Linked DNA regions of Homo sapiens: all the other regions are linked to region 2. Evidence: promoter capture Hi-C in human tissues and cell types (Jung and others, 2019). All regions are on one chromosome and are shown on one strand. The core of a region is centred on a gene start or on the middle of the fragment in contact, and the rest is flanking DNA. Distances in the headings are between cores, read along the strand shown.

Evidence for each region. The method cuts DNA at HindIII sites, captures the fragments that hold promoters and counts their contacts. A contact is called where the count stands out against the background at its distance.
Region 1: a contact is called between a fragment that was not itself captured here and the fragment with the promoter of TMEM44 in region 2, in 1 of the 25 tissues and cell types used here (spleen).
Region 3: a contact is called between a fragment that was not itself captured here and the fragment with the promoter of TMEM44 in region 2, in 2 of the 25 tissues and cell types used here (liver and spleen).
Region 4: a fragment that was not itself captured here is called in contact with the fragment with the promoter of TMEM44 in region 2 in 2 of the 25 tissues and cell types used here (bladder and spleen).
Region 5: a contact is called between the fragment with the promoter of ACAP2 here and the fragment with the promoter of TMEM44 in region 2, in 1 of the 25 tissues and cell types used here (IMR-90 fibroblasts).
Region 6: a contact is called between a fragment that was not itself captured here and the fragment with the promoter of TMEM44 in region 2, in 1 of the 25 tissues and cell types used here (spleen).
Region 7: a contact is called between a fragment that was not itself captured here and the fragment with the promoter of TMEM44 in region 2, in 5 of the 25 tissues and cell types used here (IMR-90 fibroblasts, dorsolateral prefrontal cortex, psoas muscle and 2 more).

Annotation. Positions count from the first base shown.
Region 1 is chr3:195,366,220-195,369,711 of GRCh38, forward strand. The region is part of intron 4 of ACAP2 (ArfGAP with coiled-coil, ankyrin repeat and PH domains 2); the gene reads right to left. Among named protein-coding and RNA genes, the nearest start is that of ACAP2, 75 kb to the right of the region's middle. The HindIII fragment of the contact is 3,212 bases long and covers 476-3,492 here.
Region 2 is chr3:194,631,204-194,635,062 of GRCh38, forward strand. TMEM44 (transmembrane protein 44) reads right to left here and starts at 2,216. Exons shown (of 10, transcript NM_001011655.3): 1 at 1,876-2,216. The coding sequence starts at 2,012. It overlaps TMEM44-AS2 (TMEM44 antisense RNA 2), which reads left to right and starts at 1,725. Exons shown (of 2, transcript NR_186047.1): 1 at 1,725-1,964. RefSeq lists a silencer at 1,985-2,414. The HindIII fragment of the contact is 16,299 bases long and covers 1-3,859 here.
Region 3 is chr3:195,511,336-195,515,213 of GRCh38, forward strand. PPP1R2 (protein phosphatase 1 regulatory inhibitor subunit 2) reads right to left here. Exons shown (of 6, transcript NM_006241.8): 6 at 3,093-3,878. Among named protein-coding and RNA genes, the nearest start is that of PPP1R2, 30 kb to the right of the region's middle. The HindIII fragment of the contact is 4,639 bases long and covers 1-3,878 here.
Region 4 is chr3:195,252,088-195,255,698 of GRCh38, forward strand. The region is part of intron 1 of XXYLT1 (xyloside xylosyltransferase 1); the gene reads right to left. Among named protein-coding and RNA genes, the nearest start is that of XXYLT1, 17 kb to the right of the region's middle. RefSeq lists enhancers at 628-677, 1,467-2,254. The HindIII fragment of the contact is 4,979 bases long and covers 1-3,611 here.
Region 5 is chr3:195,441,459-195,444,859 of GRCh38, forward strand. ACAP2 (ArfGAP with coiled-coil, ankyrin repeat and PH domains 2) reads right to left here and starts at 1,562. Exons shown (of 23, transcript NM_012287.6): 1 at 1,337-1,562. The coding sequence starts at 1,389. RefSeq lists enhancers at 477-566, 1,106-1,605 and silencers at 1,017-1,066, 1,087-1,306, 1,427-1,926. The HindIII fragment of the contact is 9,168 bases long and covers 1-3,401 here.
Region 6 is chr3:195,226,470-195,230,043 of GRCh38, forward strand. It overlaps XXYLT1 (xyloside xylosyltransferase 1), which reads right to left. Exons shown (of 4, transcript NM_152531.5): 2 at 240-387. Among named protein-coding and RNA genes, the nearest start is that of XXYLT1, 43 kb to the right of the region's middle. RefSeq lists an enhancer at 1-501. The HindIII fragment of the contact is 8,654 bases long and covers 1-3,574 here.
Region 7 is chr3:195,153,108-195,156,709 of GRCh38, forward strand. It overlaps XXYLT1 (xyloside xylosyltransferase 1), which reads right to left. Exons shown (of 4, transcript NM_152531.5): 3 at 3,342-3,474. Among named protein-coding and RNA genes, the nearest start is that of XXYLT1-AS2, 7.0 kb to the left of the region's middle. RefSeq lists enhancers at 1-96, 97-737, 2,175-2,314. The HindIII fragment of the contact is 7,618 bases long and covers 1-3,602 here.

The sequences.
Region 1 (3,492 bases), core at 832-3,331, 730 kb after region 2:
GTTGTATCACAATCACATGGAAAACTAAAAGAAAATACAAAGATGCAATCTTGTTGAAGAAACATAGGCTGCTTCTATATTTTTAGGAAGTTTGCCAGATGATTCTGTTATACAAACATTGGTACCAAACTGCTCTACCCAGTGGTTCTCAAATTGGTTGCACATTGAAATAACTTGGGCAACTTTTAAATACACAGATGTTGCAATAATTAGAGACACTGGTGACTCCAGAATCAGTATTTTAAAAGCTTGCCAGGTGTGACCAAACATTACCGCCATCACCTGGGAGCTGGTCAGAACTATAGAATCGCTAGAACCACCCCAGTCTTGTTAGAAATGGAGAATCTGAATCTGCATTTACCAAGATCTCCAGGTGGTTTGTTTACAGGAAACAATCCACTGTTTCTTAAACTGGGCTGCAGACTAGAATGACATGGGGAGCCTTAAAAATTACTAATGCCTGCTTCTTATTCGCAAACAATCTGGTTTTAATTAGCCTGGTTCATCCAACACCATTTTACTGAGAAGAATTCATGAAAGGCAGTTAAACCACTAAGTCACATTCACTAACATTAAAAGGACCACTCTTCAGTGTGTGTCATGGCAGATACAGTCTCCGTAAATGGGAAAAATGAAGGAGTCCTTTACAACAGTCATCAGGACACTCTTTCCGCCAAGGGCTAGATATAATAAGCATTGAAGCTTGTGGGCCATGAGGCCTCTATCACACTACTCAACCCTGCTGCTGTGGTGTAAAAGTAGCCATAGACAATACAGAAACAGAAGAGCATAGCTGTGTTCCAGTAAAAACTTATATGCCCCCCAACCCCGCCAAAAAAAAAAAAAAAAAAACGGCAATGGGCTGGATATGGCCTGCAACGCATGGTTTGCCAAACTGTGCTCTCAAACAGTGGTTTTCAAATGTTAGAATACATCAGAAACACCTGGAAGGCTTGTTCAAACACAGATTGCTAGCTCCCAGACACAGCTCCTAATTCAGCAGATCTAGGGTGGGCTCTGAGAATCTACAGTTCTAACAAGTTCCCAGATGGTGCTGATGCTGCTGGTCCAGGGACCACTCATTAAGAATCAGTTATCTCAAACTTTACTAGTGGTTCTCAAACTTTACTGCAATGTCAGGATCACCTGGGGAGATTTTTTCAATTATATGCTACACTTCAAATGACATAAATAAAACTCTGGGGGAATGGGGATTAGTTGACTATTGTCAAGCTTCCTAACACTGAGTCCTGGCACACAGATCAGGTATTGAAAGGCAACCTATATATATGACCACCATCAATTCCTCCCATCCCTGCAGGTGCGTGCCACTCTCCCACTCACACGGTAGAGTTGATTTTCCTTACCCTGAATCTGGGGTGGCTCTGAGTCTTGCTTTGATCAAAAGAATGCAGAAGTGATGCGATGTGACTTGTAGGCCCAGGCTTTAAGGGACCATGTACCCACTGATTTCACATTCGTGAAGGCCAACTATCACATTAAGAAGTCTGACTAGCCTGCTGGGGAGAGAGGCCAAATGTAGAGAGAGAAGTCCTAGAAGATGAGAGACTCCAAAGGGTGAAAGAAGCTCAGCCAACACCAGTCATTCCAGCCACTCCAGCTAAGGTAGCAGACATGCTGAATCCTTCAGCCACAGTCAAGCCACCCAGCCAGCACCAACTAGAGCAGAAGTAAGCTGATCCCTCCAAGCCCCACTTGGTGGCTGTTTTAAGTCACAAAGTTTTGGGGCAGTTGTTAAACAGTCAAAGTTACTGACAAGATGTTGGTAGCCGTATTTAAGATATTGATGTTTATAAGTTTTTATAGTGATTTTTAAAGCTGCAAACTACTTGGTATAATTCAGAATCTACAACTGCTAAAATTACATTTTGGTACTATTTGTATGCCTGTCTGTTAACTCTCTGGTTTTTTGTTTGTTTCTGTTTCTGAGACCAAGTCTCTCTCTGTCACCCAGACTGGAGCGCAGTGGCTCGATCTCAGCTCACTGCAACCTTCGCCTCCCGGGTTCAAGCGATTCTTCTGCCTCAGCCTCCCAAGTAGCTGGGATTACCGGCATGCACCACTATGCCTGGCTAATTTTTGTATTTTTAATAGAGACGGGGTTTCACCATGTTGGCCAGACTGGTCTCAAACTCCTGACCTCAAATGATCCACCCATCTCTGCCTCCCATAGTGCTGGGATGACAGGCGTTATCCCAGCCACTGTTTGTTAAATTTCTGAATGTAGTAATTACTACTTTGCCAAAGCTATATTAATTCTTCCTCCTGCATTCCCATTTGAATCATCCAAAACTATATTTTACCACAATTTGTGTTATCATTTCATGTTATTTTTCATATTTTTCCTACTAATCATGAAATTACATATCGTTGTTTCCATAGCATCATCATTTAGTATTACAGATTCTTATTAGAATATAATTGTTTTTGTTATTTTTCAGCTGTTACTTCTTCATTTTTATTTATCATTGGCTTTTGGTGTTAATTAGCTAAAGTGTGACTTGATGAAATTTCATTTATAGTAACTCCTAACCATAAAAATCATTTCTAAAGAAGAAATCGGCAGAGCACAGTGGCTCACGCCTGTAATCCCACCACTTTGAGAGGCCAAGGCGGGTGAATCACCTGAGGTCAGGAGTTCAAGACCAGCCTGGCCAACATGGCGAAACCCTATCTCTACTAAAAATACAAAAATTAGCTGGGCATGGCGGTGGGTGCCTGTAGTCCCAGCTACTTGGGGGGCTGAGGCGGGAGAATCACTTGAACCTGGGAGGCGGAGGTTGCAGTGAGCTGAGATCGTGCCACTGCACTCCAGCCTGGGCAACAAGAGCAGAACTATGTCTCAAAAACAAACAAAAAAAAAAAAAAGAGGAAGAAATTAAGTGTACATAATTAAAACTTATTTTAAATAAATTGTAGGCCTTTAGAGATTCAAAAACATTTTTTTAAATCTGATTTTCTGATCATACGTAATATTTATGACACTGACTAAAATGAATTATTGTTTTGTTTACTAAATGCTTAATTTTTTATTTAGCTTTTATTTTAGGTTCAGTGGTACATGTGCAGGTTATATAGGTAAACTCTTATCATGGGGGTTTGATGTACAGATTGTTTCATCACCCAGGTAACAAGCCTAGTACTTGATAAGTTATTTTTTTCCGATCCTCTCCCTCCTCCCACCCTCCACCCTCAAGGGCTTCAGGGACAGTTATTCCCCTCTTTGTGTCCACATGTTCTCATTATTTAGTTCTCACCTACAAGTGAGAACATGTGGTATTTGGTTTTCTGTTCCTATGTTAGTTTGGATAATGGCTTCCAGCTCCATCCATGTTCCTACAGGACATGATCTCATTTTTATGGCTGCACAGTATTCCACAGTACATATGTATCACATTTTCTTTATCCAATCTGTCATTAATGGGCATTTAGGTTGAATCTATGTTTTTGCTATTGTGAACAGTGCTGCAA
Region 2 (3,859 bases), core at 966-3,465:
ATGTTGTCGTACCTGCCTTCCGAAGGGGCTGGCTGTTTCTATCGGCGTCACTGATAGGGCCTCTGAAATACATTGTCGTACCTGCCTCCTTGCTACATTTCTCTGGAGACACCGAGACAGGGTGGCAGCGCTGGCTTCATTTCCACTCAGCAGAGGGTGGTGCTCATTCCACATCCTTAGGACGATTTAGCTGATTCTGAGCGCCTGTCCTTGGGAATGGTGGATGAGTACAGAGGGCTCTTGGCTTTCTAAACATTTCCTGACCTGCTGGCCCAAGCCTGAAGCTCACAGTGGCAACATCAACTTCAGTCTGGGCCCTGGGCTCCTAAAACCAATTGAAGACCAAGGAGTGGAGATTCTTAAATTGGAGACTCCCAGAGGCGGACCCCAATTAGAAATAATTTATATCAACCCTCCCATTTGAGAGGACAAAACTGAGGCCTCTGGTGAGAAGGTGAGTTAATGGTGGTCTTCTGGCTTCACACGCGGGGGCTTTGCTCCGTACCCTGTTGTTCTCAGCCACTTCCCCAGCTCTTGGGGCCAGGGTGCCAGCTGACCTTAACCCAGCCCACACACCACTCCGAAGACACATTCTTCTAAGAGAAAGGGGAGCAGGGGAGGTTCAGGGATGGCAAGGCCCTGAAAACAAATGGGTATGTCCAGATCCCAGGCAGGGTGAGAAGCAGAGGCTCACTCTTAACCCCTCCAAGGTTGGCAAAGTGCCTAACAGTGCTGGTCTGAGGACAACTGTGAGGAACAAAAGGATAATGCGTGTCCAGCGCCTTGTTAGTTTCCAGCCTCTGATCTGAACAGTTTAATCTCTCTTACCAGCCTGCCCCTTTCCAATAGGATCTGGGGTTTTGGTTCTTTCCTTTCACTCAGACAAGTTATTTAACCTCTCAGAACCTCAGGGTTCCCTACAGAAAGTGGGGGTAACAGCACCTACCTCCTGGTGCTGATATTGTGAGTGGCAGGCATTGAATGAGTTAATGAATGCAACACTGGGCCTACAGTAAATGTTCTAGGCGTCTTTTTATTTGTATTGCAGTACTGGGTAGTGGGGCTGCAGAATCTCTGCAATACGACCAAACGCCTTAGGAGAATATCCACTGAGTGCCTACAGGGAGACAGTTCTAACCTCTCCCAGGGGTGCTGGTCCTTTCTCCCCTGCCAGGGAATGCTTGGGCGGCACCATCCTGAGCACTGCTAGTGGATTTCCATGCCTAGGACAGAGCGGCTGAGGACCTGGAGATTCACTCTTAGAACTTAGGCTACCGTGGGCATCTGGACAAACCAGTCCAGGTGCTGGACAGACCAGGGCAAAGACAGGCCAGCTGGATCATATCACTACCTCCCTTCCCACCTAAGAGGACTTTGGGTAAACTGAGGCCAGAAACATCAAGGGACTTGCCAAGGTCCTAAGAGTTGGTGGCCTAGCTGGAGCAATACAAATGATGTTTAATGAGCATTTACTAAGTGCTTTAACGGTACTGATTCATCGAATCCTCCCATCATCCTATGAGGTATTATCTCCGGTCATAGGAGGCCCAGAGAGGTTCTGGAGCTTGCCCAGGTCACACTGCGAGTCAATGGCGAAGGGCTGACAATAGCACCCAGGGCTCGCGGTGTCCTCGGGGCCCCATCCGCTGCACCACCCAGCCTCCTCCCTTTGGCTCACAGCCCAGCTTCCCTGTGCGTGGGATCCGGAAAGAAGATCCCACTTCAGTCTACAGAGCAATGTTCCATTGGATCCTATTACTGAGCCATCTCCTTCATCCCCCTTTCCGCCCCCTCCTCTAGGTTTCCGAGAGGGAGCAGCAGGGGATTGGCGCCCGTTTCCCCGCCCGACAGCCCCCCGACCCGTGGCCCCATTACAGCGCGTGGGCGGCGATCCAGCAGGAGGAGGCGCAGATCCACAGGCCGAAGGAGATGCAGACGCGGTGGCGGGCGAAGCAGCGGTCCAGGTAGTCCCAGTCCCAGAGCGCGGGCGCGGGGCTGGGCGCCTCCCCCATGGCGCGGCTGGGCGCGCGGCGCGGGGCCGGGGACCTGGGCGCAGCCTCCCTCGCCGCGGGCAAGCCCCGAGCGCCGCCGCCCCGCGTGCCCTTCTCTGGGTTCCGTTCCGCCGCGGCGCCTCCGGCCGAGCGCACCGACCGCGGGCAGAGAAGGGCGCGCTCCCGGGCGCGGGCGGCGGCGGCGAAGGCGCCGGGGAAAAGTTTCCGGGACCGCGCGCTCCCCACCCCTCGCGCTATTGTCGGGGGTCGGCAGGGCGGAGGCCGCCCCCCAGCGGCGGGAGCCGGGAGCTGCGCGCGCACAAAGACTGCGGCCCCCGCCCCCCGCCGACCTCTTCGCGGTCACCCACCTCCAACATCCTGGCCGGAGCGGGGCGGGCGGCTGGGCTCGCGGACGGCCGAGTCCCTGCCGGTCGCTGTAAGGCACGGCGTCCCTTCCTGCGTATTGTCCACATTTCCTGAGCCAACAGCAATTAGTTGCGCTGCTGAAGCGCATGGGTGCTGGGATCCCGAGGTGAAGGGGGCGTGGTCCTGATCGCCGACAGGGCGCAGTAAAAAGGGTGGGGTGCAAGACCAGGAAGGAGGAAACAAACGTGCCGGAGAACAAATACCCCCACATCTGCCTCTCACTCTCCTTTCTGAAGCTGCCAACGGCACCCTCCGCCCCCAGGCAGTCGCCCAAGCCCTGCTCCTGGATGTCATCCTAGCCCACGGCCCCGCAGCCAAGAGCTGGTTATCTCTGCAACCGGCCGCCTCCTGTCCAGCCACACACCGCACAGTTCAAGTACACAGGGCTGTTTTTCTTGAGAGTAAACTATTATTGTAATTTTTAAATCTCCTTATTGATTTTAGTAGGTTTGTTTAAAGCAAGACATGACTTGAAAACAATATTTCTATAGAAGGAGCAGGATTGAAAAAAAGAAAAAAAATCTTTTTTAATTTTCAAAAACTACAGCTTTATTTAGATATTATTTATATGCCATAAGCATAGTCTTTTTTTTTTTTTTTTTTTTTGAGACAGAGTCTCACTCTGTTGCCCAGGCTGGAATGCAATGGTGCGATCTCAGCTCCCTGCAGCCTCCGCCTCCCAGGTTCAAGCAATTCTCCTGCCTCCGCCTCCCAAGTAGCTGGGACTACAGGTGCCCGCCACCACACCCGAGTAATTTTTGTATTTTTAGTAGAGACGGTGTTTCACCATGTTGGCCAGGCTGGTCTTAAACTCCTGACCTCGTGATCTGCCCTCCTCAGCCTCTTAAAGTGCTGGGATTACAGGTGTGAGCCACCACATCCAGCCTACATAGTACTTTTAAAATGTACAATTCTGGCCAGGCACGGTGGCTCACAACTGTAGTCCCTGCACTTTGGGAGGCTGAGGCAGGCGGATCACTTGAGGTCAGGAGCTCAAGACCGGCCTGGCCAACATGGTGAAACACTGTCTCTACTAAAAATACAAAAATTAGCCGGGCATGGTGGTGCGCGCCTGTAATCCCAGCACTTTGGGAGGCCGAGGCAGGTGGATCACTTGAGGTCAGGAGTTTGAGACCACCCTGGCCAACATGGTGAAACCCCATCTCTACTAAAAACACAAAAATTAGCCAGGCATGATGGCAGGCGCCTGTAATCCCAGCTACTCGGGAGACTGAGGCAGGAGAACTGCTTGAACCTGGGAGGCGGAGATTGCTGTGAGCTGAGATGGCGCCACTGCACTCCAGCCTGGGCGACAGAGCAAGACTCCATCTCAAAACAAAACAAAAAATAAAATGTACAATTCAGCAGTTTTTAGTGTATCCATAGCGTTGTGCAACCAACATCACTGTCTACTTTTAGAACATTTTCATCACCCCCATCTG
Region 3 (3,878 bases), core at 882-3,381, 880 kb after region 2:
AGACTCTGTTCTCCAAAAAAAAAAAAAAAAAAAAAAAAAAAATGCTGGGTATAGCTGTGTGTACTTGTAGTCCCAGCTCCTGGGGAGGCTTGAGGTGGGAGGATCCCTTGAAACCAGGAGTTGAGTCCAGCCTGGGCAATAGAGTGAGCCTCTGTCTCTAAAATACACACAAAGACTCAGACACTCCTACTTGGGGAAGCAGGGACCAGTTTGCTTTTCAAAGTTAGCAGTGAACCAAAGCACATTTCCTAAGACAGTTTCAAGCTAAAGCAAGACTTCCATATTGTGGTTTTGACCCAGCCCTTCCTTCCCCAGCCCCTTGTCCCCCAGTAAATCAACTTAGGGATTATTAAAACAGCAGCAGAAGCTTAAATGGCAACAATCCACAAATCTGCTTCAACTTCTGAAATCCAACATTTGTACCAGGCTTTTGTGTTAAAAATCATCTGACATTTCTGATTTTTGTGAGAACTGTCTTGCTTAGGAAAAATTTTGAGGTAGGTGACTAGAGACATTGTATTAGTCTGTTCTCACACTGCTATAAAGAACTACCTGAGACTGGGTTATTTATTTAAAAAAGAGGTTGAATTAATTCACAGTTCCACAGGCTTAACAAGAAGCATGACTGGGAGGCCTCAGGAAACCTACAATCATGGTGGAAGGCAAAGGGGAAGTAGGGACATCTTCACATGTGGCAGGAGAGAGAGAGAAAAGGAGTAAGTGCTACACACTTTTAAACAACTAACTCTCCTGAGAACTCACTCCTCATCACAAGAACAACAAGGGGGAAATCTACCCCCATGATCCAATCACCTCCTATTGGGTCCCTCCCCAACAATGGGGATTACAATTCAATGTGAGGTTTGGGTGGGGACACAGAGCCAAACCAAACATATCGGAGATCTTCATTTGGTACGAAGAAAATCCACATAAAACTCTGATAAATGGCAGTGGCTTGCTAGCCCAGCCTTCTCAGTCTCACCTACCAGAAAGGCCTCCTGAGAATGGCTGCAGAGGGTGAATGTCTTCTTACTCCTTCCTTGTTCTTGCAAAGCAGCGCTCCCTCTCTGCTCTGCACACCTAAGCTTGAAACTCTTTAAAGGCAGGGAAATAATCTTATGTGTGTATTTCCCAATTTAGCTTGGCACAGTGCCCTATGATAAAATGCTTATTTTTCAATTGAGAGTGTCTTTTACATAGGAAGATAAAAACATAGAATTCTGACGCTAAGTAATTGCTTATACAGGGATACTTCCAAGACCAAGAAGCCTAACTAAACGAGAATGTAACTAAACTTTGCTTCCTATGTTCATTTCATTAGTCTATTATTGGTAACACTTTTTCAGACTGAACCATTAGAACAAGGCATACTGAAAAGCTGCTTATAATCCTCTTTGCTTAATAAGTGAGGTCAAATGATATTAAGATATAAAAGATTAGCCTGCAGAATCCTCTTCTAGTTCTAGTCAACACTGTCATCAATCCACACACAATTAAACAGATAGGAGCAATTTATAGGCGTTATCTTCCAGTTGCAACAATTCCCATTGGTAATAGAACTGAAATGCCGAACACTTGGCAGACTTTACTGAAAAAAATTTCAGGTTGGGCAGTTGAGATAAAATCATGACTAAACACTTGCCAAATGCATCCTCACTCACCTACTCTCAGCGTTACCTCCCCCAATAATTCCTCAAATCAAAAACCTGATGAGTCGAATCCCAAAACCACTTTGCTGGAGTAACCAAGTTTGGGGGTATGAGCCACAGACCAGAGACACTTGTTATCTGCTCTTCTATTTTCTTGACGGGTAGCAGACGTGCTCTTGTCAACCAACTATGCAAAGAGTGGACAGCGAGTGTAAGACATTCCAAAAATCTGCTTGAGCAGCAGGTCTTTGGAATACTAGTCTATCAGTACAAAACCACTGCAGCTTATAACCAACCACAACTACACATTAATCTGTCCTGAATATATATTTTGCAGTTTCTTGCATAAGTTACCAAAAAGTAAAATCTTATGTTTGGCAAGTTGTATCCGATCCATCAATACCCTGCAGTTATTGCTACCATGTCTTCCTTCTTTCACTGATAAACCATTCTCTTCCTCTTTTAGGAGAAAGTCCAAGTTTGATATATGAGAGACCCTGGCCTATTGCCCTACTTGGGATGTTATTTGATGGACAAAATGGGGTGGTTACAGTGAGATATGTTTGAAAAAGGTAAAACTAAGTTTTAAATAGGTTCCTATAAGCAGGACTGCTCAGACTCCTTATTATGATAATAATGTACATAAGTCTCCAAGAGGCTGGGGAATAAAGTACACAGTATGTGCGAGGCTTGTTTATTGCCTCATTTTCACGGAGCATGGTGTGGGATAAGGGTTTCATGGAACACACTGGGCAATCCTGTGTTGGGTACATGTTGGCTTTTATAGGCTGACACGGTCCTTGACTTGTTAAGATGGATTGTATGAAAAAAATCACGTTCTGAGCTTGAAACAGCCTGCTAAGAAACAAACTTGCAAAACACAACCAAATGACATGCATTCATCTCCAGCCACTGGCTATTTGTGCTTTTGAGCGATTTTTCCTAGATGGCACACAAACTGCAAACAAAATTAAGTTATTTCCAATTTTTCAGATTTTAAAAAACCCCAGAAGCTCAAACACCTGAAAAATGCTACTCCTAAAGCATAGTTATGGATCAATAATCCATATACATTTATTTGTAAGGTACAATTTCTAAAATGTTTTCTACATCAAAAAATGTATGAATAAAGACCATGAAATTTAGTTAGGTTTGGATTTAAATCCTATCATTTAGCATGTGTGAGGCACTGAAATGATTAATAAATAAGTTGACCAAGAGCACTTTCCTCACTTACAAAGTGTAGATAAGAATGCTTGCCTTTGTGTGGTGGTTTTGAGGGTTAGATGTAAGGGACTGAGCACAATGCTACTAAGACTGAGGAAACTACTCGGCCACAGCGTAATCCATGATCCACTCCTGGTATCCAGGGCAAGTGGTCGATGGATTATGGTCTTGAGATAGCTAAGTAACAATAAAATAAAATCCACACACAGGCAATTGTCATATTATTGTATTTTATTACAGTACGTGTAGTGTATACTAACTGAAAGGGAAAAATGTAAACAAAACCAAAGTCATGGGGAAAATGGCATCTTGCTTTAATCTTCAACTGAAAGTTACCTTAACAATCCATTTACACCATTATGTCAAATTTTAGTCATCTCTGCAGAATTTTAGACAAATGAAAACAGACAAGGTAACACCAAATAGTTAAGCACAGAAAGTGATACTGATTAAAAAGTTGAAAGTAAAATCTACCTTGGCTAGAACTGAACATTCAGATCTGTCTCTCCAGAGGAAAATCTAACTTGAATCATAATGGTTCATATTTTGACTAGTTCATACCCTATCAATTACCTACTTATGACTTGAACATACCTTTTCTCAGCTGCATGTGACAGCCTAAAACCCCACTGAGCATGCTGCTTGGCATGCCTTACTCCTCTGAAATCATCATCTACTTTCTAAAAACCAGAAAATGAGTTTGTGATTTAAATTTCAAAAAATAGTTTGTAGAAAACACAAAAAGAATCAACTGTTTAAAGTCTTATCCTTTTCTTCACTCTATGACAGCTACTTCTACAAAAAAAAAAAAAGAGTATGTGGGTACTTTCTAAGAACTCAGAAACAAGAAAACCAAAATCAGAGGGTGCATGAATATATGTGCACGCACATGTACAGACTTAATCTCTACATCCCCCAAGACAGATTTAAACAGGTAATCCCAACATTTTAAATTCAGAAACCAGAGACAAACAGTTTTGTTTCTAAATCAGTGGTATTCCT
Region 4 (3,611 bases), core at 454-2,953, 620 kb after region 2:
ATGAAATCTCATACTCACAATGAAATGTCAAATGGATATATGAGACTGTTTACATAACTGCTGAAAACATACAAAGCAGTAATACATATATATTTTATGCATACATATGTGGTAAAAATTAAAAACATACAAATTGCACAAAACACCAACTTCTTATTTGTGACAGTAAATACCTCTGGAGGGAGTAGGATGGAGAAGAAATAGAGTGAGCTTTAGCTACGTCTATAATATTTTATTTCCTTAAAAAAAGAATCTTAAGCAAATAGAGAAAAATGTTAGCACCTATTTAACTTACACAGTAGAAACAAAGATATCTGTTACTTTTTTTGTTTTCATTTTTCTGTTTTGGCTTATTTTAGAATTAAAATTTTTTAACATCTAAAAAATATATCGTGAGAGGCAAAAAGCGGGGCTGTGTAATATAAATTAGCAGGAAAAATTCTTTATAATGAAGAGGCAAGAGAGTGGGCACTGAGGAGCAGCCCTGATAGACCTGATCTTCACATGTGTTAATTTGTGGGAACAGGACCACATAGGACTGGGAAGTGTTTCTTGTGGAGAATCAAGGAAGGTTCCTGGGAACAATTCAAAAGAAGAAAAAAAACCACACACACACACACACACACACACACACACACACAGAGAGAGAGAGAGAGAGAGAGAGAGAGATTCACTGTGGTGTTATTTATTGTGTGAAAAAAACAGAAACTCACAGCTCAGGTTACAAAAGAAATATGACTATAACGTATGCTACAGTGATATGAACAATAAGCTGGAGACAGGGCAGGGGCGGCGAGGCGGGGAGGCGTTTATGGCATACGCCACCGCAGGTGGGTCCCCTATTCAGTAACGTGAGTAGAGAACAAAATTCCCCTGCTCTATCCAAATTAGGCCTGCAAGAAACAAGGGCTCAAGGGAACGTGGGAAAATGAAGACGGTTTGTTGAATGAGATTTACAGCTTTCCACTACCTGGAGAAGCAAGTCACAAAGGGCTCTCCGTGGAGCCCAGGCACTGCACCCCAGCTGCCCGCTTTTCTCCAAGCACTTTCTCCTGCCCTTTTCTTGGACCCTCCCTCTCCCCGGGGCCCAGGGAAGGCTGCCCTAAGCACTGACTCCTCTCCTGGGGCAGTGAGATTTCCCTCTCATATTTCCAGGCTGGAACAAATCCCCCAAAGACTCCCGTAAATCAGGTCCAGATGCTGCACATGTCACAGAAAAAGGCTGAGAAGTCAACAGCTCCAGAAATCAGGAGGCGAAGCGGCAAGATCCCGTTTCATTTCCCAAGGCCCCTGCTTAAGACACAGCCTTAAGCAAAAGACACGTTTTCATTTTGCATTTGCCTTAAAATGTCTCCCAACTCTCTGAGAGCCACATCAGTTCTAAAATCTTCAACTGCTCACATTTCTTTTTTTTTCTTTTTTTTTTTTTTTTTTGAGAAGGAGTTTTGTCTCCCAGGCTGGAGTGCAGTGTTGTGATTTTGGTTCACTGCAACCTCCGCCTCCTGGGTTCAGGCAATTCTCCTGCCTCAGCCTCTCGAGCAGCTGGGACTACAGGTGCCCACCACCACGCCTGGCCAATTTTTGTATTTTTAGTAGAGACGGGGTTTCACTATGTTGGCCAGGCTGGTCTCGAACTCCTGACCTCAGGTGATCCGCCCGCCTCGGCCTCCCAAAGTTCTAGGATTACAGGCGTGAGCCACCGCGCCCGGCCTGTTCACATTTCTGATCAAAGCGAAAGCCACTCAGTCACTCAGTGAGCCCAAAGAAGAGACCAGTAAGCAGGGCCAGCCTACCTGGCAGTTTACATCCTCTGCAAACGCTGCTCAGCAAATTCAACTATGTAGCCAATCACTCTTCCCTCAAGTGAGTTTTAAAGGGTAACACCAGAGGGAAACGGTGCTCTCGGACAAGTCACGGGGGTGCCCACTGCCCAGCTGTGCACCAGGGGGCACCCCCACTGGGGTGGGGAGATTTCCCTCTCACATTTCCAGGCTGGAACAAGTCCCCCAAAGACCCCCATAAATCAGGCCCCAGGGGGCCCTCAGCGCTTGGAGACTCTGGCCACAGACGTCAGCAGTGACTGCCCAGGCCTGGCAGGTTCTCCAGGGCCTCAGCCCCAGGGCCTGGGACCAAAGCCCCACCCTGCACTGACCACAGGTTAAATTTGCCCTGAAACTGGGGTCAGCAGCAGAAACAACACGCCCCTCACCCTCCCAACCACAGGACGCAGGCTCGAAGCCTGACGAGGTGATTTTCAAAGTACCATCTGCTCCTGGGAAGCCATTCCCTGAGCCGGAAGCTTGTTCCTTTTCCCCTGTGAGGAAACTGGGGGCCACATGGCATCACACAGAGCCCTCTGCAGGCTCAGTCACCCTCTCACTCTTGCTCAGCACGTCCACGGGGCATAATTAAGTCTGTAGGCTGCGGGATCTCTGTGCCAAAACTGCTCTTTTGTTTCCCAAGGTGAAGCATCTGGAACCTGGGCATCCAGGCAACAGGCTCGCAAGGCCCAGATTCAGGGGCAGCCACCTGCGCCAGGCTGGGACCTGACACAGGGTGAGCAGGTGAGCCACTGAGCAGGACCATGAGGTGGCATGCTAAAGCTGGGCACAGCCACCAAGGGTGGGACACAGACCTGCAGGGCCTTCACGGGGCCAGGGCAGTGCCTAAGGGTCCACCTAGCACGCGTCAAGCACAAACAGCTGCGCTGTGCACATTCAGTCACTTAACGTCGCCCTCACACCAATGTTTTGGGGCAGGTGATAGGACTGGGCCCCTGCTACAGAGAGGAGGTGGTTCAGAGAATGTAAACAACTACCCCCCACCTCCCAGAAAGATGAGGTAGAGCCAGGATCTAAAGCGGCCCATCTGTAGCCAACACCATACTCATTCAAGAGACACACGCCCATTCCCACACCCGCTGCACAGGAAAGAGAAAGAAGTCAGACTCGGACCCTGTCCCCAACTGCCCCAGGCTGGGAAATTCACCAGCACTGCGGACAGAGCAGGGGATAACAGCAGCATCAGAAAGACCCATAAGGCCATAGGTTTGCAGAGGGAATGCAGTCCCTCAGCAAGGAGCTTCAGTCGGACTAAACCAGCAGAAAAGGCGGTTTCCGAGTACCATGCTCGCACAACAGGGAGCCGCCGACCAGGCCTGGAGATCCCTGTGACAGTCACGGCAGGACTGGGGCTGCAGGAGTGCAGAGCCAGGTGGGAGACAGCAGCGGGGTTCCCTACCCCACACGGCTCGCACCCACGAGCTCAGCCCCCAGCAGGACCCAGTCGGGCTGGGGACTCAGCTCCATCCAAGTGGGCTGAGCAGGGCCAGGCAATGGGTTGGAGGGAGCCATGACTCTGGGCCTGCAGCTGAGGAGGCTGCAAAGCTTCCTTCTGGAGCAGCCGATCAGTGGACGTGGAGCAAAGCCTTTCATTGTCCACAAAACACAGACGACTGCAGGGAGTCACAAGTGGGTGAGATCCAAAAGCTGTGTCAGGCTAGAAACCAAAACAGAAGACAAACCGGCGCACAGAGCAAGCACAGCGTAGAACTGGCTTCCGAACACAAGGGAAGGCAGGCAGGGAGACCATGAGTGCAGGGAACCAGAGAG
Region 5 (3,401 bases), core at 312-2,811, 810 kb after region 2:
ATTAATACCCAAAAATCATCAAAGGGCAAACGCAAAAAGCGTTCTTAAATTTTCTCTAAGTAGCAGTTCCTTAGTTTTACAATTCTTTTCTTTTTCGCTGAAAGGAGAATAAGAAATCCAATTAACAGTGTTAAGGATGAGAACAGTTAGTTCCCAGGCAGAGGATGCAATTTACAATCCAGGCTTGGCCCAGACATTAGCGGGCACACACACGCCAGTGCTCAGAGGAAGCTTCAAGAAATGTCACTATCTAACGGAAGTGTTAAGGCCTTATATTTGTAAGGACTATGACCAGCCCTGTAAATAAATACACTGTAAAACGCAACCTAGAAAAACTCCATTGTCCAAAACAACTCAAGACTTTCCTACTATCCTCAAAACAGAAAGAACCTGTGTCCTGGACGGCCTCAGGACGACCGCCTCTCACATAGAAAGAAGGGCAACCCATGTGAATCGGAGTGCCCCCATGTCAACTCTGTGACAGATCCACTGGGAGCATCCGACTGTGATCCGGGCCCTCCTGGGCAGAGGCTGCTGGAAGAGGAACACACAGGCAATCTTCACGGCCCTCCTACTTCCGTTCTCAAAACAGAAATGCACTTTTCTGCTAGTCCTCCGCCCTCAGCCCGGTACCTCTCGACAGCTGTGCCCCCTTCAACGAGCTTAAGTGGAAAGAAAAGCAGGTAGTCACCAACTAGGGTCCACGGAATGCGGTTGATCACAGCGCTTCCCCCCGCGATTCCCGCACGCATCCACCGCGGGCGCCCTCCGGAGAGTCGCTCTGGCCGGGGGCACCGCGAAGCAGAAGTCGGCGTCCCAGTTCGCCCCCTACTCTCTCCTCCCCGGGGAAGGGGGGCAGAAAAGCGCAAAGAGGAACTAAATGAACTGCAAGAGGATGCCCTGAAAGCTCCCTCAAAGAGGGGGTGGGGAGGGGGTGGAAACCAAGAAGGGGCGGAAGGAAGGGGGAAGGAAGAGCAGCCAGAGGAGGAAGGGGGCGAGAGCGAGCGCCCGCGAAGGGGACGGGACTTCGGGAGCGCGGCTGCACCCCATTTCCCCCAGCGGGAGAGGGTGCGCCGGCCTTCGGGGCGCTCCGCCCCGGCAGAGGGCAAGGAAAGAAATGAGAGGCGACGTCCCCGTCCCCGCCACTTCGTCGCCCCTCGGGAGGGCTCGGTGGGGACTGCAGTGCCCTCGCAGGGTGGGAAACGGCGGCAACAGCCGCTCGCCCCGTCGGAAGGAGCGGACGGCGGGGCCTCCTCCGGGTGCGCGGGCCCGGCTTTCACGCCCCCAGCGCCGGGAAGGCAGCTCCGCGGTGACGCCGGGCGGCCGTGCCGGTTACCTGAAGCGGGGCGAGTCCTTCAGACACTCCTCGAAATCCACAGTCATCTTCATCCTGCCTCCGCCTCGCAGGCGGCGCTGGCAAAGCCGAGGGGGCCGCGGGAGCGGCCGCGCTGGGACGCAGACGGCTACGGCGGGCGCACGGCCGCGACTAGCGTTGCGCGGAGCTGCGAAGGGCGCCTCGCCCGCTGGTCATAGCAGCCGCGAAGACGGCGACGACTAGTCAGGCCCCAGTCCCGCCCCTCTTCCTCCCGCCCCAAGTAGAGCGCTGGCCGCAGGGAAACGGCCGGGGAGTGACAGCAGCGGCCAGCCAGCCACGAACCTGGCGGCCAAGGGGCGGGGCATCCGGCAGCACCGCCTGCGGGCGCCCGGGCAACGGGTCTGAGCGACGGCAACCCGAGCCAATGAGCAGCGCGACCGTGGGCACCTCCTTGCCACAACCGCCCCCGAGGGCCAACCGGGATGCGCGGGCGTCGCTAGGCGGGACGCACCGGTTGCTGGGAGGCCGGCAGCTGAGGTTCCTTGGGAAGGAAGTCACGTGGCTGCGGCCGCGCTTCCCTCCGAGCCCCCGCCTCTTCTCCTGCTCCCCGAGCCCCGCCCTGCTGAGCTGCCAGCCCAGAGGAGCAGTCTCCTGCAGGTCTGAGGAAGGAAATTTGCTTTTCAAAGCAGATTGGCAGAAATCTGAAGAGGTTAGAGGCAGAAATTATAAAAGGAAGAGATAGGCTAAGCCACCTATTCCTTTCAGTTTAGAGAAACTGAGGCCAGAAGAGGAGCGAGGATAACTTTAGTGATAAAATCCATCTTTCATGTATTTGTTCCATAGCTTCATAATCTGGAAATTGCTCCCATGTACATCTTCTCATATAGCCAGAGACCACTTCCTGAAGGAGCTGCCGTTTGGGTTGGACATAGAAAGATTTAGGCAGGTATGGGAGGTAGGGTGCTTCGTGTGGAGGAACTCCTCTCAAAACTGCCGAAAGCATTCCCCCTCACTGACACTTTGCTCCTGGTGGTTTTCACTGTTCTGCCATGGTGGGGTTCTGAAGACCAGGCTCATCGTACTCACCTTGCAACACCTGCCCCTCTAATCCACACTTTTTCTAGAAGCACTTTAAGATACTTATCATCTGATCCTCACGGCAGGTATTTACCATACTCCTTCATTTTAAGATGCCATTGATTGTAAAAAGTACAAAGATGTCTTATATGTAATGAGTAATTTTTAAGCCAACCTAAAAAACACGGGCGTATCTATAAAAATGAATATACAGGGTGTTCTAACAGCATAGTGGCTCTGAGTGAGAATCTGGAGGCAAACTTCCTGGATTTAGGTCCCAGCTTTCTCACTTTAAAATGAACATAACACACAGATCTGATGAAGTTGTCCGGTTAACACAGTGCCACATATCGATCATTCAGTAAATGTTGGCTATTTTAATTGTACCATTTGCCTCTTCAGTACTATAATCAAAGGGCTTAAGTCTAAGTTCTCTCACTTTCACTGTCTGAAGTTTTTGTTTGTCTCAAAAACAATCAAACAATTTCGTTCCGTTCCCCAGGCTGGTCTCAAACTCATGGCCTCAAGTGATCCTTCTGTCTCAGCCTCCCAAAATGCTGAGATTACAGGTGTGAGCCACACACCCAGCCTTCTAAAGTCTTAATATAACTTTCTGACCGTCTGGCTAAGTATAGCGTGATGACATACTGTTTTTCGTAACCCATCAAGAGATATCTTGATCTCTTTAGCATCTTTAGAAATTAACAGTATAGACAGGGCATGGTGGCTCACACCTGTAATCCCAGCACTTTGGGAGGCCGAGGTGAGCAGATTCCTTGCTCCAGGAGTTCCAGACCAGCCTGGGCAACATGGTGAAATCCTGTCTCTACAACTCTACAAAAATATACAAAAAATTAGCCAGGCACATGCCTATAGTCCCAGTTACTCATGAGGCTGAGGTGGAAGGGTCACTTAAGCCTAGGAAGTCAAGACTGCAGTGAGCCATGATTGTGCCACTGCACTCCAGCCTGGGTAGACAGAGCAAAACACTGTATCAAAAGAAAAAAAA
Region 6 (3,574 bases), core at 273-2,772, 590 kb after region 2:
CCAGAGACCCCCTGTGTCCTCATAAATGGACCCCGGGAGCTATGCAACCAAGGCCCTGCCCTTGATTCTTGGTGTAGGAAGCTCGGTGGTACAAAGGGCTTGGTCTGGCTCCCTCGTCCACTCTTTCATGTTCAGTGGAGCTATTCTCCCTGATACAGGGCCTGGGCAGTGTTGGAACCAGGGAAATGGATGCAAAAGTCAGACACCCAGGGGCTATTGCTCCTGGAAGCCCAGGTTACCTTTGGGCATGATCTGATGCATGGCGACCGAGAGGAAGAAGATGGAGTCACTGTAGTAGGTTCCCAAGCCAGCACTGAAGTGCTTCTGCATGGCCTCCACGATGGGGAAGAGCTTATCCGTCAGCACAGCAACATCGTGGAAGATGACCTGCAGCAGGTGCAAAAAAAACCAAGGCTCAGCAAACCAGTTCTCACTGCAAGCTCAACACCCAACAAGCACCTGGGCCCACAGAGGCAGAGGCAGACAGTGCCTCTCCAGGGTCCACAAGCAGGGGATGGGGCTAGGGGTAGCAACGGAGAGTTAAGGAAACGAGAAACAACCAGGAGTCAGAATTGAGGCCGCACTAAGGAGATGGGGACACTGTGTGAGGGGTGGCATGCAGGCATGCATGTACGGGCTGTGCAGTGGAAGAGAAGTGGGAGGACAGGAAATGGAAACAGCCCCTAGTCTGCTTCCTGCTTTTGAACATGAAGCTGGGCCCCCCTGAAGGTAGCTCTGTGCCCAGCGACTGGAAACCACGTGAGAGTGTGTGATCCTCATCACATTGCATGGCTAACACTGCTCCAGGCATCGCCACCTCCTGGTGGCCACTGCATCTGTTCCATAGGCCAGTCCGATGCTCCAGCTCTACCTCCCTCATCCAACAGTGTGAACAAGGAGAGGGTCTGGCCACTGGAAAATGGAACCCGGAAACTGCTCTGTGCTGCAGTAAACTCACACTCAACTAGCATTTCTTGAGTATCACTGACACTCTGGAGGCACTGTGAGAAGTATAAGGAATAACCAGGTACACTTTCCTCAAAGCACTTAGAAGTCCAGAGGTATAATCAGCTACGGCAGAGCTTTGCAATTTATGAAACACTCTCACATACCCACACTGATCCCCACGACAACCTAGGGCTTCTGTGAGGCAGACATCACTATTATAGCCTCCAAATTACAAATAAGGACGCAGACACTCAGACAGGTTACACTTGCAGCAAGTCACACAGATAATAAATGCAGAGTCAGAACTTGACCCTGGCCTCCAGATTCTCAGCCCCACACTCTTTCCACCATAAACGCATCCTCATTCCTTAACAGCAACCAACAAAGGATGAAGACATCAGCTCAACCCGCGATTAGAGCAGACAAGAGTACTAACGCGATCCTGAGTTGGGTTTCCTTGTCTAACTCTACTCCAGAAGATGAGAAGTATGGCCCATGCGCAGCCCCAGCTTCACATGTGATACCAGATGACCATGTACTGGTCCCACAGGTCTTGCAAGTTTTTCCTGTTGTTCCATGTGCCCCCACAGGATCTAGATCCTTCTACGACACACAGGAGGCACTCAAGCCAGAAGGCTGGGTGTTCCTCCACCTTCTTCCTCAGTGCTCCTAAGAGTTCTGCAAGCGCCACCTCCCGCCACCATCTTCTCTGGTATGTGACAGGACAAGCCTGCCACACTGCATCCTAGCTGCTCAATCACCACCTCATCAACTCCGAAGAGCCCACCTGAACAGGTGCCAGCAGCAAAAGGCAAAGCCACGTGAACCCCTGACTGCCCTGTTTACACTGTCACTTGCCCTGCCAGACAGTGGCAAGTGGTGCCCTTGAAGCTCTCCAATAGGCGGGCTCCACTCCATCACTCACCTTTCCCCTTTCCCTCCACCTGCCCTTCCAGTCTCAGGGTGCTGCCTGCACTACCTGCACTTCCAGAGCCATCGGTGGTCGTGGCCCTGTAAACCACCGTCTGCTCTTCCCTACTGTTGGTTCTGCTTTTGGCCTATATTTCACTTTTTTTTTTTTTTTTTTTTTTGAGATGGAGTCTCACTCTGTCAACCGAGGCTGGAGTACAGGGGTGCAATCTGGGCTCACTGACACCGCCTCCCGGGTTCAAGCGATTCTCCTGCCTCAGCCTCCCAAGTATCTGGGACTACAGACGCCCGCCACCACCCCCAGCTAATTTTTTGTATTTTTAGTAGAGATGGGGTTTCACCATGTTAGCCAGGATGGTCTCGATCTCCTGACCTCGTGATGCGCCCGCCTCGGCCTCCCAAAGTGCTGGGATTACAGGCATGATCCACCACACCCGGCCTATTTCCCTTATTTCTTCTATATGTATCTCTTTTTTTTTTTCGAGACAGAGTTTCACTCTTGTTGCCCAGGCTGGAGTGCAGTGGCGTGATCTCGGCTCACTGTAACCTCTGCTTCCCAGGTTCAAGTGATTCTCCTGCCTGAGCCTCCCAAATAGCTGGGATTACAGGCGCCCACCACCATGCCTGGCTAATTCTTCTACTTTTAGTAGAGACAGGGTTTCACCATGTTGGCTAGGCTGGTCTCGAACTCCTGACCTCAGGTGATCCACCCACCTCAGCCTCCCAAAGTGTTGGATTACAGGTATGAGCCACCGCGCCCGGCCTGTATCTCTTACATAGCTTATTTCTCTTATATTTCTTTTTAACCTATATCTCTCTTAGTTCACCTTTCCTTTTATTCTTGGGTCTCTTTTAATTTCTAAAACACTATTAAATTTAGAAAAACTTTGTTACTATTTTTTTATTTTTAATTTTTGTGGATAGAGTATGTATATATATTTATGGAGTATATGAGATATTTTCATACAAGCATACAATGCATAATAATCATATCAAGGTAAATGAGGTATCCATCACCTCAAGCATTTATCCTTTGTGTTACAAACAATCCAATTATTTTAGTTATTTGAAAATGTGTAATTAAACTACTTTTTACTGTAGTCATCCTATTGTGCTAGCAAATACTAGGTCTTACTCACCCTTTGCCAATATTTTTTGTATCCATTAACCATCTCCTCCTCCCCCAACTCACTCCACTACTTTTCCCAGCCTCTGATAACCATCATTCTAATCTCCATCTCCACGAGTTTAACTGTTTTAATTTCTACCTCCCACAAATAAGAACATGCAAAGTTTGTCTTTCTGTGCCTGGCTTATGCCACTTAACAAAACGATCTCCGGTTCCATCACTGTTGTTGCAAATGACAGGATCTCATTCTTATTTATGGCTGAATAGTACTCCATTTTGTATATGTACTGTTTTCTTTTTCCATTCATCAGCTGATGGAACCTTAGGCTGCTTCCAAATCCCAGCTATTGTGAATAGTGCTGCAATAAACATGGGGGTGCAGATATGTCTTCGATATACTTAATTCCTTTCTTTTGGGTATATATCTAGCAGTGGGATTGCAGGATCATATGCTAGCTCTATTTTCAGTTTTTTGAGGAACCGCCAATCTGTTCTCCATAGTGATTGTACTAATTCACACCAACAGTATATGAAGGTTCCCTTTTCTCTACATCCTCACCAGCATTT
Region 7 (3,602 bases), core at 729-3,228, 520 kb after region 2:
CGCTGTCCCTGCTTCCTCTCTCCCCTTCCATTCCCATCCTCTTCCTTCTCTCAGCCTCCCCACCCTAGCCCCACTGCCAGCCAGGTGAACACTCCAAAGCAGCAGATAATTAATGCCGGATCTCCCAGGTCCCCAGAGGTCCCCAGTCTTCTTGTGAAAGAAGGCAAAAAACATGCTCAATTCCTTGTCGGCCAGCCAGTACCAAGCCATTCCCAGCCCCAGCATGAGACTGCAAACGTTACAAGGCAATTCCCCAGAGCCAGCGGGGCACGCGGCAGGCAGTGCAGGGCTGTCATCTGCAGACTCCATTATTAAAGGTCTCTGGAAACATTTCAGCTGAGGGGTGGAGGGAGGGAGCATGAAAAGGAGTATAAGTCTCTGTTGATTTTTGAGTGCCCAGGCCCTGCAAACGCCATTCTTCAGACTCTGCTGCAGCGGAGGTCTCATGGTTATCATAGTACATAATGAAAATTAAAGATGCTCAGGGTTAGAAAAACTCAGTTTCATTTCGAATCTAAAATCTTTCAGAGCTTTCTTTCAGGAAGTCCAGATAATTAAACTGATTTTAAGTTGCACTGTTTATAAAATCCTAGATCTACAGAAAATACAAATTCTGGCCAATCCTGTCTAAGCACGATGGGTTTCCAAGTTTCCATTTATATCACATGAGAAGATTCCAAAGCAGGCCTTGAAGGCATTGGCGCTGTAACTGCATTTAATACTTAGCCCAGTTTAAACACCCCATGACGTCAGTTCTCCCCGATCCCTGAAGAGCTCACCAGCAGACAGGCAACTTCCAGACGGAGGGAGGACAATGAGGGTCCGAAGGGCTGTAACCCCCAATGCCAGAGCCGGGGAGCGGGGACTTAGAGCTCAGCTCTTCTCCTTCTCAGGTGGGGGAACAAAGGCCCCAAGGTGGCAGAGCTGGGACTAGTATCTAGGGCTTGGGACTCTGAGGCTCCCTGTATTGTTACAGTAGGTAGCTAGTCAGACATGAGCAGGGCAGGAGAGGGCTCCACCACCACCAGGAATGTCAGGCGACCATCAGCTGATGGTCAGGCAGTTGTCAACCGTCTCTCTAAAATGATAATTGGATGCAGCCAGCGCCAGGGAAAGGGAGGGTCCCAGTAGATAGAAAGAACCTGGAACTGACGACCAGCAGCTTCCTGGTAAGATTTCAGGAGTTGGGCACGTGGGCTCAAGCATGTGCACTAGGAGGCAAAACGGTGGCACTAGGAGGCATGTGCACTAGGAGGCAAAACCCTCCTCTAGGAAGGCTGGACTGGTAAGGGAAGAAACCAGGAAATAAATCACAGAAACAAACCATCTGGTAAAGAAAACACAAAGAGGAATGAAGATTAAGGGAGGGAGAGAGGGAGGGAGGGGAAATGCTCTTTAATGAGGGTCTCTCTCGCAACAGAAACTTCCACTGTTACTTCATTTGAGTTCTCCAGGGAGCGCGTGCACAACCTCGGTAAACACACTGCGCTCCCTCCCAAGGGCTTGCAGGCCACCCTCAGGGAAGAACCGGGGGAGGAGTAACGCAAACCCCAGAACCACGCCAATGTACAAAACCCCAAGTCAAAAGTCACACAGCACGTTTGATCTCCAAGTCACCCACTGGCCCTCTCCCAAGTGTACTTTATTTCCTTTCATTCCGGTCTAAAGCTTTTTAATAAACTTTCTCTCCTGCTCTAAAACTTGCCTTGGTCTCTCACTCTGCCTGAGGCCCCTCAAATTCTTTCTTCTGAAGAGGCAGGAAGTGAGGGTGCTACGGACCCATATGGATTCACTGCTGCGACCACTATCACCTCCCTCTGTTGGACCAAGGACCCCAGCAGATCTTCCTGGTATGAAGGGGAGGGAAGAAGGTGGGGAGTCTTCTACAGTTAAGATGGCAGGTGTCTGCCCAAACCCTCTCAAGTCGCCAACCCCTGACCTCAGAGGAAGAGGCCTACCCAGTGACTCTGGGGCCACACGTGAGAGGATTATATAAGGGAGAAAAGTCCACACGGCCCAAGGAGTTATCAGCTCATTTAGGGGCCTTGCAGGAATTTCCTGTTATGTGATCTGGGTCATGCAAATAGCCACAACCGAGCTGAAGCTGCCTCTTCACCCCCTCTTTCTGAGGGGAAACACAGGCTCTTGACTCACTAGTTGCCTGTACTCTGCAGCTCTCCAACGACTGGGCCTCCCTCCAGGAAGGTCGGCAGGGAGCCAGCATCACGGTGTGCACTGAGAACAAAGAGCGGGGCATGCCTGCGGGACAGCAAAATCCCAGCCCTTTCCGAACAAACTCGGCAGCTCTGCTCTGGGTGTGCTATCGCTCTACCCGCTGGAGAAACAGCCAGCAACATGAAACTCTCCAGGCCCAGGGCCACAGGCCTGGTTTATTGTAATCAAAACCCGCTTCAGCTGTTCCTTTCCTTTTTTTTTTTTTTAATTACAAGATGTAGAACAAGAACACACAAAAAAGTGCATGCAAACATGAAGCTAAGCTAAGTGGGGAACTGAGACCTTGCAGCTCTCCAGAGCCAACCCACCCCCACGCCCCCCACCGCCTGCCACGCCGGCTTTGGGAAGCATCACCCCCCTTCTCCTTTCCCATTCTCCGCACCTGCACATGTGCATCCCTAAAGGTTCCAGTTTGGTTTCGCTCTCGTCGCATGGAGCCGTTCCCTTTTTTGCTGTTGCTGTATAGCACTCAACTGAATGAATGCGTTTTATTTATCCATTCTGCTAAGTAGCAAATTTGAGTCGTTTTCAGTTTTGGCTACTACAAATAACGCTACAGTGAATATTCCAGAATGGTTCTCAGTCCTGGAGTTTCTCCATGACACAGGCTTGACAATCAAATGCAGCATCATGCGGAATGCGCTTCTTCGTGCTGACTACTGATGCCAGTCTGTGTTCTGACGTCTTCCCTCCCTACAAGACCACCAATCCACCCACTCTGCTAATAGAGAATGGGGGTCACTGGTGACTCACAGGCCAAGAAAGCCCAGCTGGTCAGTAGAAGGGAAGTTAAATCTTCCTCCGTAAGGCAAAGCCCAAGATTTTAAAATTCTGAGCTTAACCAGATCCAACAACCAGAACAACTGGGCTTTTCAGAAGAAAAAGGCCACAAACTCCAACAAAATAATGAGGTAGCACCTACGGCTTGGGATAGACCCACCTGCCCATACAATCAACTGTAAGCAATAAGTACCAATGTGTTCCCAAGATACTAAGTGCAGAAGGATCGGACGCCACTAAATCCCAATCTGTCACGGCTGGCAGAAGAGAGAGGGTGAAGGGTGGGGAGGGGTCGTGGAGGCGGCCCCCCTGCAGTCATGACGCACCTGTAAACTGGCTGCATCTCCCGGGCTATGCCGATGATGGCGCCTGGCAGGAAACTGTCAAATTCCTCAAACAACTCCCGGATGTTGGTCTTAAACTTCAGGTCTAGGTCCAGCTGAATGATCTGCAGGATCTCTGCGGGAAAGAGAAAAGGACAATGAGACACAGGTACACCTCCTGGGAGGCTCGGCCACGGACAGAAAATGAAGTGGAGGGCAGAGAAAAGGGCACTGGACTCTTACTGTTGTCAGTGAATGATGCAC